2 separate regions of the Homo sapiens genome follow, and region 2 is linked to region 1. Evidence: promoter capture Hi-C in human tissues and cell types (Jung and others, 2019). All regions are on one chromosome and are shown on one strand. The core of a region is centred on a gene start or on the middle of the fragment in contact, and the rest is flanking DNA. Distances in the headings are between cores, read along the strand shown. Region 1 holds the start of THY1 (Thy-1 cell surface antigen). Region 2 overlaps LOC105369526 (a long non-coding RNA gene).

Region 1 (6,138 bases), core at 2,200-4,699:
CTCAGTATTATGGCTGCCTTGATATCAGGGAGACCTCAAATGGCCTAATTACAAGATCCCCTCCCTACTTTGCTGATGAGGTCCCCCAGCCAAACCACCCTCCTTATTGTGGGGGCCAGGCACAATTTCTGCTTAACCCTGAGTACTGGGCTTCAGCACCCTGCCAGCCCACAGAATTATGCAAACAGCCAATCACATTCTCTTACAGGAAACGGGGGCATTCCACCGTTTTGACATTACAAAGCCTGCCTCCCACAGCTCCTGGTAATACCTGTTTCTGAGTGCAACTCCCATGAAGCAGTTCATGGCGTGCAGTGTTATCCTCCCAGGTATGAGCATATGTGACTAATAAACTGCTATTGCTCTCATTCGTCCAGTGTTGAGGTCATGTGATCCCCCTAACTTTAGGGGATGGGAATCTCTCCCTCATCAACAGGGTGAAGAACATAAAATCAAAACAAGGTGATAACCTGACAGCTATGTTCAGAGTACCCCGGACTGTCCTCGTTTTACTTATTTCACCGTGAACCAGGGAAATGAGTCTAGCAGAGATCTGAGGGTCCGCCCTGGGAGCACTGGAGAGCACAGTGGGAACATGGAGTCAGGAGACTTAAGATCTAATAGTCCAGACCATGCTTCAAAATATTTGTCTGACCTTGACAAATCATTACCTTTCTCGGGCCTCAAGTCCCAGCTATAAAATAGTGGGGCAAGCCAGGTGCAGTGGCTCCCACCTGTAATCCCAGCATTTTGAGAGGCCAGGCGGGAGGATTACTTGAGCCCAGGAGTTCAAGATCAGCCTGGGCAACATGGTGAGATCCCATCTCTACAAAAAAAAAAAAAAAAAATTAATTAGCTGGGCATAGTGTCAAGTGCCTATTGTCCCAGCTACTCAGGAGGCTGAGGTAGGAGGATCACTTGAGCCCAGGAGGTCAAAGCTTCAGTGAGTGGTGATTGCACCACTGCACTCTAGCCTAGGCAACAGAGTGAGACCCTGGCTCAAAAATAAAATAAAATAAAATTTAAAAGATGGGACCACTGTAGTCACCTCTGTGATTCTAGAAAGACAATCTGATGAAATGAGGGAATGGCTGGCAGTCCCTAGGTCATGCTAAAGGACTGTGTGTTTTTAGAAGAGTTTTTATCCCCATATGTTTCTGGGTGGGAAAACAGGAGATGGTGGGAAAAGAGAGATCTAAGAGACCAACAGGGCAGCCGCAGTCTTCTGGCAGGAAGTCTTGCCTTAGCTGGATTCCTCTAAAGCCTTGCTGGTTTCAGCACTCCGATCCTATCCACAGTAAATGGAGTTTTAAAATCTCCTCCCTCCACCACCTTGTGCTCTATCCCCTGACCTCAGATGTCTAATCAGAGCCATTAATTCCATCCAATCAGAGATCTTGCTTGGCAGACACAGAATTGCCACACCTTCTACAGTCTATACTCCCCTCCCCTGCCTAAAAGCAAGGTGCTTGGGGACCCAGAAATTAGGCCAGGTCCTCATAACCTTATCAAAATAGCACTGCTAGGCCTTCCACCCAGCAACACTCAGAGACAGGGCCAAAGAGTGGGAAACGGAGCATCCAGGGCCTCAGCCAGCAGAGCCCAGATGCCTTCTGCAGTTAAGATCCCTGGACTCAGAATCAGAAAGCTGTTAAGCAGGAAGGAGTGCGCTGCCATGAAGAGGCAGACAGAAGCCAGAGCCAGTGTGTCTGGAATGCATCAGGTAGATGAATGGGAAGATGGCTGGGATGGAGTTGGAGGGAGGAGGGAAGTCAGCAGCCAGGGGCCAGGACATTCATGGCCTTAAAAAGTATCCTACAAACAAGAAGCCAGGTTAGCTCACCTATGAAGAGGGACAGTCTTACCAGATCATGTGTTAGAGTCCCCAGATCCTGGGGAGCGTGAGAAAAGTGCAGACTCAGCTGGCTCTAGTACTAGATTAAGGAGGTCCTAGGTGGGCAAGGCCAGCTGCATTTTTCATAAAATGCCCTAGAAACCTCTGCAGTTTACCAAAGTGAATAGCTCCTTTGGACTTAACCATCTGCAAGGCTCATTCCAGTTAGAGTGTTCCATCACCCTAAATGCTGGGAAACCAAGCGAATCTCCTCCCACTTGCAAGCTTCCAACAGTGGCTTCCAACAGTGCCACTGCAGTATCAGAAACTGCAGGGAAGGTGCCAGGGCTGACTTCCATGAAGAAATAGGAGAACAGGCAGGCAGACATTGGGGAGGCCCACAGAATGTCGTGATCAGAATTCATAAAGAGGCTGGCAGGATACAAATCAATCAAATAAACGTTAGTTCAAAAAAATTCACTACACCTGTGAGTGAGAGAAAGTCATCAGCACTGTCTCTAAAAATGAGCCTAGGGCTTCTGGTGACATCCAATCGGTGGGTTATCAGGAGTGCCCCAGGTGATCAGGAGTTGGCCTCGACTCAGTCCTTTTTGTGCTGTCTCCTCCTCTTTCCCAGAGTTCCTCTCTCTCTTCTCCCACTAGGCAGGGATGAGCAAGAGGAATGGCTCACCCTTGAGAGCTGGGGTCCATAGCCCAGGTCAGTTCTCCAGCTCTCCCACTTACCAGCCAAGACAGGAGGTGAGGATTGAGATGGGATGAACCCAGCAGGCGGCCATGGGTTAAAGGTCGCCATGAATGTAATGTGCCCAGCACAGTGCCTGCTAAAAGGCAACACTCCCTTCCTGGTCTGAAGACCAAACAAGCAGACTGTACTCAGGAAAGCCAGAAGAACCTTCCAGCTGTCTGGACCAGAAGGTGCCAGCCCAGGGGCTGAAGAAGACGTAATGCCCAGAGCAAAAAGCGCCTGCAGCCCCCTGAAGGGCTGGGTGCTCTGGAATAGATGAGGGGGCGAAATGGGGCTGGGGACCAGGGACGGACAGGGTGGGTCCAGCACCTGCCTCGCTTCCGAAGGGCTGCTCCAACACTGAAAAACACCCAACCAGCTTCCTTTCAGAAAGACTGGAATATTCCAAAACTTCTCACTGGAGGCTCCGGAGGAGGTGGGCTCCAGCTGAAAAGGAAATGTGGAGGCGTGGGCGCTCCCGGCCTGCATCCTGCACCTCTTACACTTTGGTTTTCCCACAGACTCCTGAAGAATAGGTCAGAAGAAAGGGTTAAAGCCTTAAAAGGGGAACAACCATTGCGGGGCTCAGGGAGGAGGATAATGTTCTTTGGGCTGCCGCACCCTGATCCCCGGGGTCCCGAACCCTCCCGTCCCTGGCCAGGCCTGCCAGCCACAGGGTGAGGGCCCCCTTCCGCCGCAACCTGCCACTCTCACACCAATGCGGGACCGCCTTCTCTTCCTTCCCCACCCCCCACCCCACCCTGCCGTCCTTTCTCCCCCAATCTCCGCCTCTGATTGGCTGAGCCCCCGGCTCCCCGCTCCCCCTCTCCTCCATCCCCGGTGAAAACTGCGGGCTCCGAGCTGGGTGCAGCAACCGGAGGCGGCGGCGCGTCTGGAGGAGGCTGCAGCAGCGGAAGACCCCAGTCCAGGTGGGAACTGGAGCCGGTGGGACCTGGGGCTCGGGGACCGCCGTCAGGCGCCCATGCAAGACTTCCCAACACTAGGCTTCGGGCCACGGTCCGAGGGCGCCCAGGGAAGAAGGGCGCAGAGCTTAGGGAGGGGCCTGCTTTCCAGGCAGGGGCGGGAGGGGGATGCTTCTGCAGGGCAGGGGCCGCGTGGCACCCTGATGTCTTTCGGGGAAGGCGCTCCCGGGCTTTCGCCCGCTGGGGGACTGGTGTCTGGGGCTGGGGCGCTGGAGAACAGGGAGGAAGGGCACCAAGGACAGCCTGTGGGTCTACATTCCACCCAGACGTCCCCAAACCCAGCTCGCAGAGGCGGGGAGGAGGACGGATGAAACTGCGGGGAGAGGATGGAGGATGGCGAGCTAGAGGGAATCTGCCGGGTGACCTCGCGGCGGGCTGGGTGCGGGGCACCGGAGGAGAAGGAAGCCGCAGTGCCGCAGGCGGGGACTGGGTGGAAGGCGGGCGGACGGGGGAGGGGAGAGCTGGAAAAGGATGAGAGAGGGGGAAGGGGGACTCATTTGGGAAAGGAGAGGATTGGAATACGGAAATGGATTAAGGATGAGGCCCGCCGGGGGCTTGAGAGGGAGGAAGAGCAGACCTTCTCTGGGTCTGGAGCCGCCTGAGGACACAGACCAGAGGAAATGAATACAGACTGCACCTCCCCAGCCGCTCTCCACCCCTCCCCTGGCTCTTCTACCCTCTCCAGCCCCAGACCCATTTCTTCCCTTTCTTGCTCTGGCCATTGCTCCCCCTTCCCCTCCTAGATCCCAAGCCCGCACAACATCTCAAACAAGAGTCCTCGATTCAAAAGCCAGATGCCGACCCCCCTTCCTCCTGGATCTGGCTCAGGGCAGCAGCTCCACCCCGGGACAGAGAGAGCATTGATTGTAGCTGCAGCCGCCGCGGGATCCTAGCCTCACCCGTCAAGGGGCTGAGCGCCAGGGACCCTGAACTCGTCTAGTGGTGCGCCCTGCGCACCCGGGCGCACTCAACCGAGGCAATGCCCTGCGCGCTCTCGCGGGTGCACGCCCCTTCTGTGGCCTCTCCTGGGCGAGCACTGCTCTGCAGATAGGCTAGACTACCGGCTCCGCGTCGCCTCGCCAAGGGTTGGTTCAGCCAAGGCTGCAAAAAACAAAAAAAGACCAGGCAGACAGCCTATCCAGGGTGGCTATTGAAACTGGGCTGGAAAACTGCAGTCCCAGGAACTCCAGAGAGCTGGACATTGGGAAGCATCCTTGGCTCACATACAATCGGAGATCACTATGTCTTTCTCTCCTCCAGGAACACGATTAGCTTGTGTCCTATCCAGATAGGAATAGATGCTCCCTATCTGGGAGCATCCTTAGCTATGGTGAATGGTATCTAGCCATCCACTGGGGATGGCGAGTGACTTAGGGATTTGTGTCTCACGTATATGAAGCAGTCATCGCCAGATGTTGGTTGTTTTTCTTAACCCCCATCATAACCCGGTGGGTATGTAAGATTCAGAGAGATTCATTCATTCATTCACAATAAATATCTTTGGAGTGTATGCTATATGCCAGTAATCTGCAAACGGAAACGGTTTTGAGCATTGGGGATTTTCTTCTGAACAGGAAATGGGAAGTCCCTAAATGGGGAGTCTTTGTTTAACAGATACAGAGTTTTACTTTGAAAGACAAAAAGAGTTCCGGAGATGGGCTGCATAGCAACGTGAATGTATCCAGCACTGCTGAATATACTGAATTTAAGTACTGAATTTAAATGGTTAAAATAGTAATTATTATGCTTTTTGTATTTTACCACGATTAAATTTTTTTTTTAAATACGAAGCCTCAGCCCTCATAGGTCTTATATTACCATACACTATGTTAATGTAAGAAGAGGAGAAAGAGTGGTAAAGTTACTTAAAGTCACCCAGCTAGTAAGTGCTCCATGGCCAAGCGCAGAAACACACCGTGACTGGGCTTGTTCTCCCTCCTTCCTTGCTTTCCCTGAGCAGGAAAGAGCCAGTGGCAGTATCATGTTCAGTGAGATGCAGGGACGAGAGGGGGAATGGAGAGAGGGACTTAGATGACTGCCATAGCCACTATGCCATGTTCCCAGGGACCCCCAGCCCTGGTGGTAAGTGTGGCACAGCTTGGCTGATTCCCATCCTGTTCCCACCCCAGATCCAGGACTGAGATCCCAGAACCATGAACCTGGCCATCAGCATCGCTCTCCTGCTAACAGGTACCCGGCATGGGGCAGGACTGGGGCTCCAGGCGCCCTGGCTTCCTTCCCTCCAGAGAAGCAGCTTCTCCCTCACAGTCTCAGAAAAGCGCAGGTGACAAAGAGAGGGCTCTTTTTCATCCTGAAGTCAGCCAATCCACCGCGCTGATATTCTGACGGCCTGAGGTGGTTTTTGAAAACACAGTTTGCTGAGCCCTCCTTCACACTATTGAACTAGAATCCCCAACTGAGAACCCGGAACCAGCATCAACTCCCTAAGATCTCCTGTCCTTGAAACACATTGATAGGATCCAAGGCTCAAGCAGAGTGGGGAGGGAGGCTGGGGTCTGCAAAGGAGAAGTGGGATCCCTGGGGTGGGGAAAGGCACTCAGAGAGCAGACCCCGGT
Region 2 (6,138 bases), core at 1-2,500, 490 kb before region 1:
GCAGGTTTTTATACTTTGGGGGTTGTCTCTAACTTTCCTGCTGAGTTACAAGCCCTTGTTGACATGTGATGGGCACAGTTCCTGGCACATGACCAGTGCTCCTGGGTACCAACCACTCAGTACTTACTTGTTTGTCAGATGCTTTTCCTCCAAGAGAAGAGAGCTGATATAACAGATTGGCAGAGAGTGCCTCAGGTGCGATGAGAAAAAGTCTTTAAAGGGTGCAAAAAGCCTACAAAAGGAATCCAACGGGGATGAAGACAAATGCCAGGGGCTTAGAGAATTCTTTCTGGAAGGGGTAGCCCTGGGCAGGGTCTCAACCACAAGTTATCAAATCCCAGCCCACATTCCTGCCCCTCAGCTGTTGAAGAGAATCGACAGTCTGAGGACCTTATTGATAAGCTTTCTGTCCAAGAACAAACATCACAGAAATCAGCAGAGGGAAATGTCTCTTGTGTGTACACTTGGCAGAGGAGCTGAGCAGAACACGGACCTGGGTCACGTCAGAATCTATCCCTTCATGATGCCATTAAATGGAATGTTTTCACACATGATAACTGGCTGTCTTACAGAGCGGGGCACAGTTCTAGGCAAACACATGTTCACACACACTCCCACGTGTACACACACAGAACACGTGGATGACCACAGGCATATGCAAGGCATGCTTGAACAGTAATTCAGACAATGAAACTTCTGGGCCCTTGAGCCAGCAGGGAATTTCAATCCTAGTAATAGATTACTGTCCCTGACCGACCAGAAGTCTGGGCTCTTATAATGGTTTTAAATCATAGAATTATAGTTTTTAGGGGCTGTAGAAATCAGCTATTTCCACCTCCAACCCAGAGCATACAAATCCTCTCCGACATTCCTGATGTGTTGACACATAGCCTCTGCTTAACACTCCAATGATGGGGAACCTATTACCTTACCTCAAACCCTACTTGATTGTTGTTATTAATAATGCTACTGTAGATTATTGAGCACTGATGCTGTGCCTGGCACTATGCTAAACCCTCTAGGTAGACTATTGCAATTAAGCCAGTGAGGTAGCTTAAATTGAGTCTCAGAGAAATCGAGCTGTCCGTGGTGATGCATTTAGCATGCGGCAGAGCTGGGATTTGAACCTGGGACTGAATGACCCATAGCCTTGCACAGCACTTGTCATATTAATGTGTCTTAAGTTTTGTTGTATAGGAAATCATTCTTCAGAATAAGCTGAATCCTCTGCTTCTCTGTAACTTTCACTGACTGATCCCAGGTCCCAGCTCTGGAGCTTTGCAGAGGCTTCCCTCTGTTCCTTTGCCCCCTCTCCTTTGATAGCCATTTTCAAATATGGGCCCCCAAAAGGATTCCCAGTGGGATATCACCTGCTTTGTTTGGACATTACACTTCGAGTGTGAACCTAAGATGCCATTGGCCTTTTGGGCAGCAACATGACATCATAGACCATTTTAAAGAAACTGCGGGGTTTTATTTGGTCTGTCTCCCAGGCGGGAGTGCAGTGGTGCAATCATAGCTCACTGTAGCCTCAGAATCTTGGGCTCAGGAGGTCCTCCCGCCCCAGCCTCCTGAATAGCTGGGACTACAGGTGCATGCCACCACACCCAAGTAATTAAAAAAAAATTTTTTTTAGAGATGGGGCCTTGCTATGTTGCCCGGGCTCAGCCCATTTTTAACATAAACTGCTGTAGGCTACTTTAATAGTTAAGTAAAAAATACATTCTCAGCCTATTATTCCACTACTTTTAGGATCTTTTTGAAGTTGTAGTTTGTCAGCCTGTACTTTAGCCAGCCTGGCAGCTTTGGGACATTTGCAAATTGGGTAAGATGCCTTTCTATACCTAGGAGATGATTACAGCCAGGCTGATATTTAAGGGCTAAATTTCTCATATCACCCACTAGAGACCACCTAACTAGTGACACTGATCTCTTGTGTGTACACTTGGCTGAGAAGCTGAGAGAAACATGGATGTGGGTCATGTCAGAATCTACCTCTTGATTATGCCATTGAACAGTATGTTTTCACATAAGATAACTGCATATCTTATGGAGTGGAGCATGGTTACAGAAGCATTACATTGGTTCCAGCATCAAATGCCAGCCACGGCTGCATATTTGGACTGAAACTAAAGATATGTCAGGGGTTGCTTCTGAAGATTTAGAGGGCAGGGATCAGTTCCAATCCAGGAGAAAAGGGTAAGGTCAAGGGAGAAATGCCAAAGTTGGGAGACCTCACACCTGTCCAGGGGGCAAGAGTGCACCTGAAGACAAACCCAGGTCTTGACATCAGGTCTGCAAAAGACAGTAGCTCAGGGAAGTATATACCAATGTTGGAGCCTGAGACATGTACCACTCGTGGGAATGCACAGGCACAAATGAGGCATTTCAGGCAATGTCCACACAAATTCCAGAAGACGGAATGCTCCTGGCCTGGGGCTCCTGCTACAGGCAGGTACACTCAACTTTCCTGAGCATGCACCTGGCTGTTCTAAAGGTACCACTTGGCTTGTTCCACCCAGTCTCTGGTCAACTTTGGATTTACTGGTGTGAATCTACCTAATTATATTATTTAGTTCTCATTTCTTCATTTTGCTCACAGGGATATCTTAAACTGGAGTAAAATAATTTTCTGAAGCTGAAATGCATTATATCTAGGGTATTCCCCTTGTATTAGTTACAATATGTTTTTCTGCAGGTTACAGAAGCCCTAAATCAAAGTGGTTTAAACAATAAAGAAACTGATGGTCTCACATAATAAGAAGCCTAGAGATAGATGCAGCATCAAGGTTGGTTGATTCAGTCGCTCAATGATGTCAGCAGAGACTCAGATTCCATCCATCTCTTGTCTACCATTTATAGCATAATGTGGTTCCCCTTAGGCTCTTAAGGTTGCTGCCAGAGTAATTGGGGCAACATACTTTGTTCCCATTCAAGGAGAGAGACAGACTGGATTCTCTTTCTCCCCAAAGCCTCAAGCAAGTCTGTCTTCATGACTCATTGGTTCAATCAGCTTAGTGGCCCAAAATGAACCAATCACGGGGGGTGGAAATGATGTTGGAAAATGTTTGCTACATTCCAGATGCTCTGGTCCAACCATGCTCTCAATAGAATAAATGAGCTCATTTGACTTGGCTCATGCTTAGTGAACCTATGCTGGTTCCTGATACTCACCATTTCTCTAAGTGATCACAAACCATCTATTTAATGACTGTGCTAAGGCTTTACCAAAGATGATAGACTCTAGGGTCTTATATTTGGAGACAGCATTTCTCCTTCTCTCTCTATCTCTCCCATTCTCAGGATTTTTTCTTTTTTCTTTTCTTTTTTTTTTTTTTTTTTTTTTGAGGCAGAGTCTTTCTCTGTCACCCGGACTGGAGTGCAGTGACGTGATCTTGGCTCACTGCAACCTTCACCTCCTGGGTTCAAACAACTCAATTCTCATGCCTCTGCCTCCTGAGTAGCTGGGATTACAGGTGTCAGAATTTTTTTAAGATACAGGCTATCACTCTGTCATCCAGGCTGGAGTGCAGTGGCACAATTATATCTCACTGCAGCCTCACCTCCAACTCCTGGGCTCAAGTGATCCTTTTGCTTCAGCCTCAGTCTCTTGAAGCTGGGACTACAGGTGTGTGCCACCATTCCTAGTTTTTTAGTTTTCTGAGATAGTGTTTGATATGGTTTGGCTGTGTCTCCACTTAAATCTTATCTGGAATTGTAGCTCCCATAATTCTCACATGTTGTGGGAGGGACCTGGTGGGAGGTATTTAATCATGGGGGCAGGTCTTTCCTGTGCTATTCTCATGATAGTGACTAAGTCTCACAAGATCTGATGGTTTTATAAAGGTAAGTTTCCCTGCACACGCTCTCTCTTGCCTGCCACCATGTAAGATGTGCCTTTTCTTCTCCTTTGCCTTCCACCATGATTGTGAGGCCTCCCCAGCCAAGTGGAACTGTGAGTCCATCAAACCTCTTTCCTTTATAAATTACCCGGTCTTGGGTATATCTTTATTGGCAGCATGAGAATGAACTAATACAGCATCTCACTATGTTGCCCAGCCTTTTCTCAAACTCCTGGCTTCAAGCAATCCTCCTGTCTTGGCCTCCCAAAGTGCTGGGATTACAGGCAGTTTGGGTATTATTTAAAGCAGTGGTTTGCAAATGTAACTGTGCAGGAGGATGCCTGTGGTTCTTGTCTGGAGTCCATGGGCCACTAGGCCATAATCCACTAGGCCACATATCCCAGTGGTTAGGAGCATGGCTTCTGGAGCTAGACTGATGGCCTATGCTCAAGTTCCAACTCTGCCACCTTCCATGTCCCTGGCCATTCAACTTCTCTGGGCCTCAGTTTTCTTATCTCTAAAATAGAGGTCATATAGAATCTCCCACATAGGATTGTTATGAAGATTAAAGGAGAGTTATGTCTACATTGTCTAGAACAGTGTCAGGGAGTCGTACGCATGTGTTCACTAACTAAATGCTGATCCCCACCCTAGAGTCTGACATTATAAGTGGGAGAGAGAGTTGGGAAGGCTGTGCTCTTGCCAAGCAGCTGTGTTGGGGATGTGGGGGTGGGATTCTGATACAGGTGACCACCCTGGAGAAACCCTGCCATAGCGAGAACTATTAGTGTGGCCACCATCCTGCAAGAACTCTTCTTGAGCTCTAGAATAAAAGACATTTTTGGCTGGGGAATAAAAATCTCGAACAACAACAAGCATGTTCTTGCTACTGCCTCATCTTATTTGGGCTTCAGTTCTCTCAGCTGTATTTTTTTCTACTTTCTCCAGATCAGGGAATATTGTCCTTGACAGGAAACAAGCAAAGTGGGAAGATTGCTTTGCTCAAACCTCTCTCAACATGATAATGTCCACCATAAAGAGAGGGGCTCGCCCCTTGTTCTTCTTGCTTCAAAAATTTTCAATGTGCCCATTTTTATTGTTGCTGGCACTGCCAGCTCACTGTGGACCACGGTGCCCCTGGTACCCTTCACACAGGTCTGTGTCATGTTTATGTCTTCCTGGGACATAGACACTGGCCCCACCGCTCCATACCCTGCAAGCCCCTTTATAATCTGAGCTCAGGACAGGGCTCCTTGGGTATCACAGTGTTTTTCTATGACAATACCTTTGTTTTCTTTATCAGCTTCATTTGTGATTATAGCACCAGAACTCACTGTTTGAGATGCTCTCAGCCCTCCTGAGCCACCTTACTTTTAGAGCTCCTATCTGTGGGATTGCAATGGTCTTTTTCTGAATCTAGGCAATGCTACCTTCTGAAATTCGACTATCCAATCCAGCTAGGCCCAGCTTGCCCTCCTTGTCCCTTATGAATGCTAAAATGACTTCTTCCAAAGCTTCCTGTCTCATGTATCTATTGCTGCATGAAAAACCACTCCAAGACTTGGTGGCTGAAAACGGCAGCTATCCATTTGTTCATGATTCTGCAATTTCTTCTAGGCTTCTGCTCACCTCATCACGGGCACCTTTGCAGCTGCCGTCAGTGGGTGACTGGGGGCCAGGCTTCAGCCAGGTACATCACTGGCACGCCTGGAGCCTCAGTGGGATGGCTGGGAGGCTCAGTCTGCCTCCACGTGTCTCTTACCCTACAGGAGGTTAGTGTGGAACTCCTTCCATGGTAGTCACAGAGCAGCCAGAGGCCAAGAACAGAAGCTGCAAAGTCCCTTAAGGCCTGGGCTCAGAGGTCATGCAGTATCACTTCTACAGCATTCTGTTGGTGAAAGTAATTTGTGTGGCCAGCCTGGATCAAAGGGAGGGCAACGTAGACTCCACCACCTAATGGAAGGAGTTGCAAAGAAGGAGCGGCCAGTTTTCATCGATCACACCTCTTTTCATTCAGCCTATTTTGAGGGCCTGTATTGAGGAGACAATAAAGAACATGGTTAAGATCTCTGGAAAGAACTCACAGCCTAGTGGAAGAAATAGAAAGCTAAAGAGAGCATCACAACACAGGCGAATAAGTAATACTAATGGCCGCCACCTTGTGTGCATTTGCTGCGTGCCAGGCACTGGGCTTCATCTCACTGAGCTTTCACCATAACCCTCTAGGGGAAGTATGTTATCATGCCCATTTTTCAGATGAGAAAATCAAGGCACAGAGTTAGGTATCAAAAGTGAG

The links. The method cuts DNA at HindIII sites, captures the fragments that hold promoters and counts their contacts. A contact is called where the count stands out against the background at its distance.
Region 2: a contact is called between a fragment that was not itself captured here and the fragment with the promoter of THY1 in region 1, in 1 of the 25 tissues and cell types used here (dorsolateral prefrontal cortex).

What each region holds. Positions count from the first base shown.
Region 1 is chr11:119,420,483-119,426,620 of GRCh38, reverse strand. THY1 (Thy-1 cell surface antigen) reads left to right here and starts at 3,449. Exons shown (of 4, transcript NM_006288.5): 1 at 3,449-3,508; 2 at 5,692-5,752. The coding sequence starts at 5,716. All of the region lies in intron 2 of USP2-AS1 (USP2 antisense RNA 1), which reads right to left. RefSeq lists enhancers at 3,571-4,136, 4,137-4,703. The HindIII fragment of the contact is 13,176 bases long and covers 25-6,138 here.
Region 2 is chr11:119,913,030-119,919,167 of GRCh38, reverse strand. All of the region lies in intron 1 of LOC105369526 (a long non-coding RNA gene), which reads right to left. Among named protein-coding and RNA genes, the nearest start is that of LINC02744, 79 kb to the left of the region's middle. The HindIII fragment of the contact is 3,258 bases long and covers 1-2,879 here.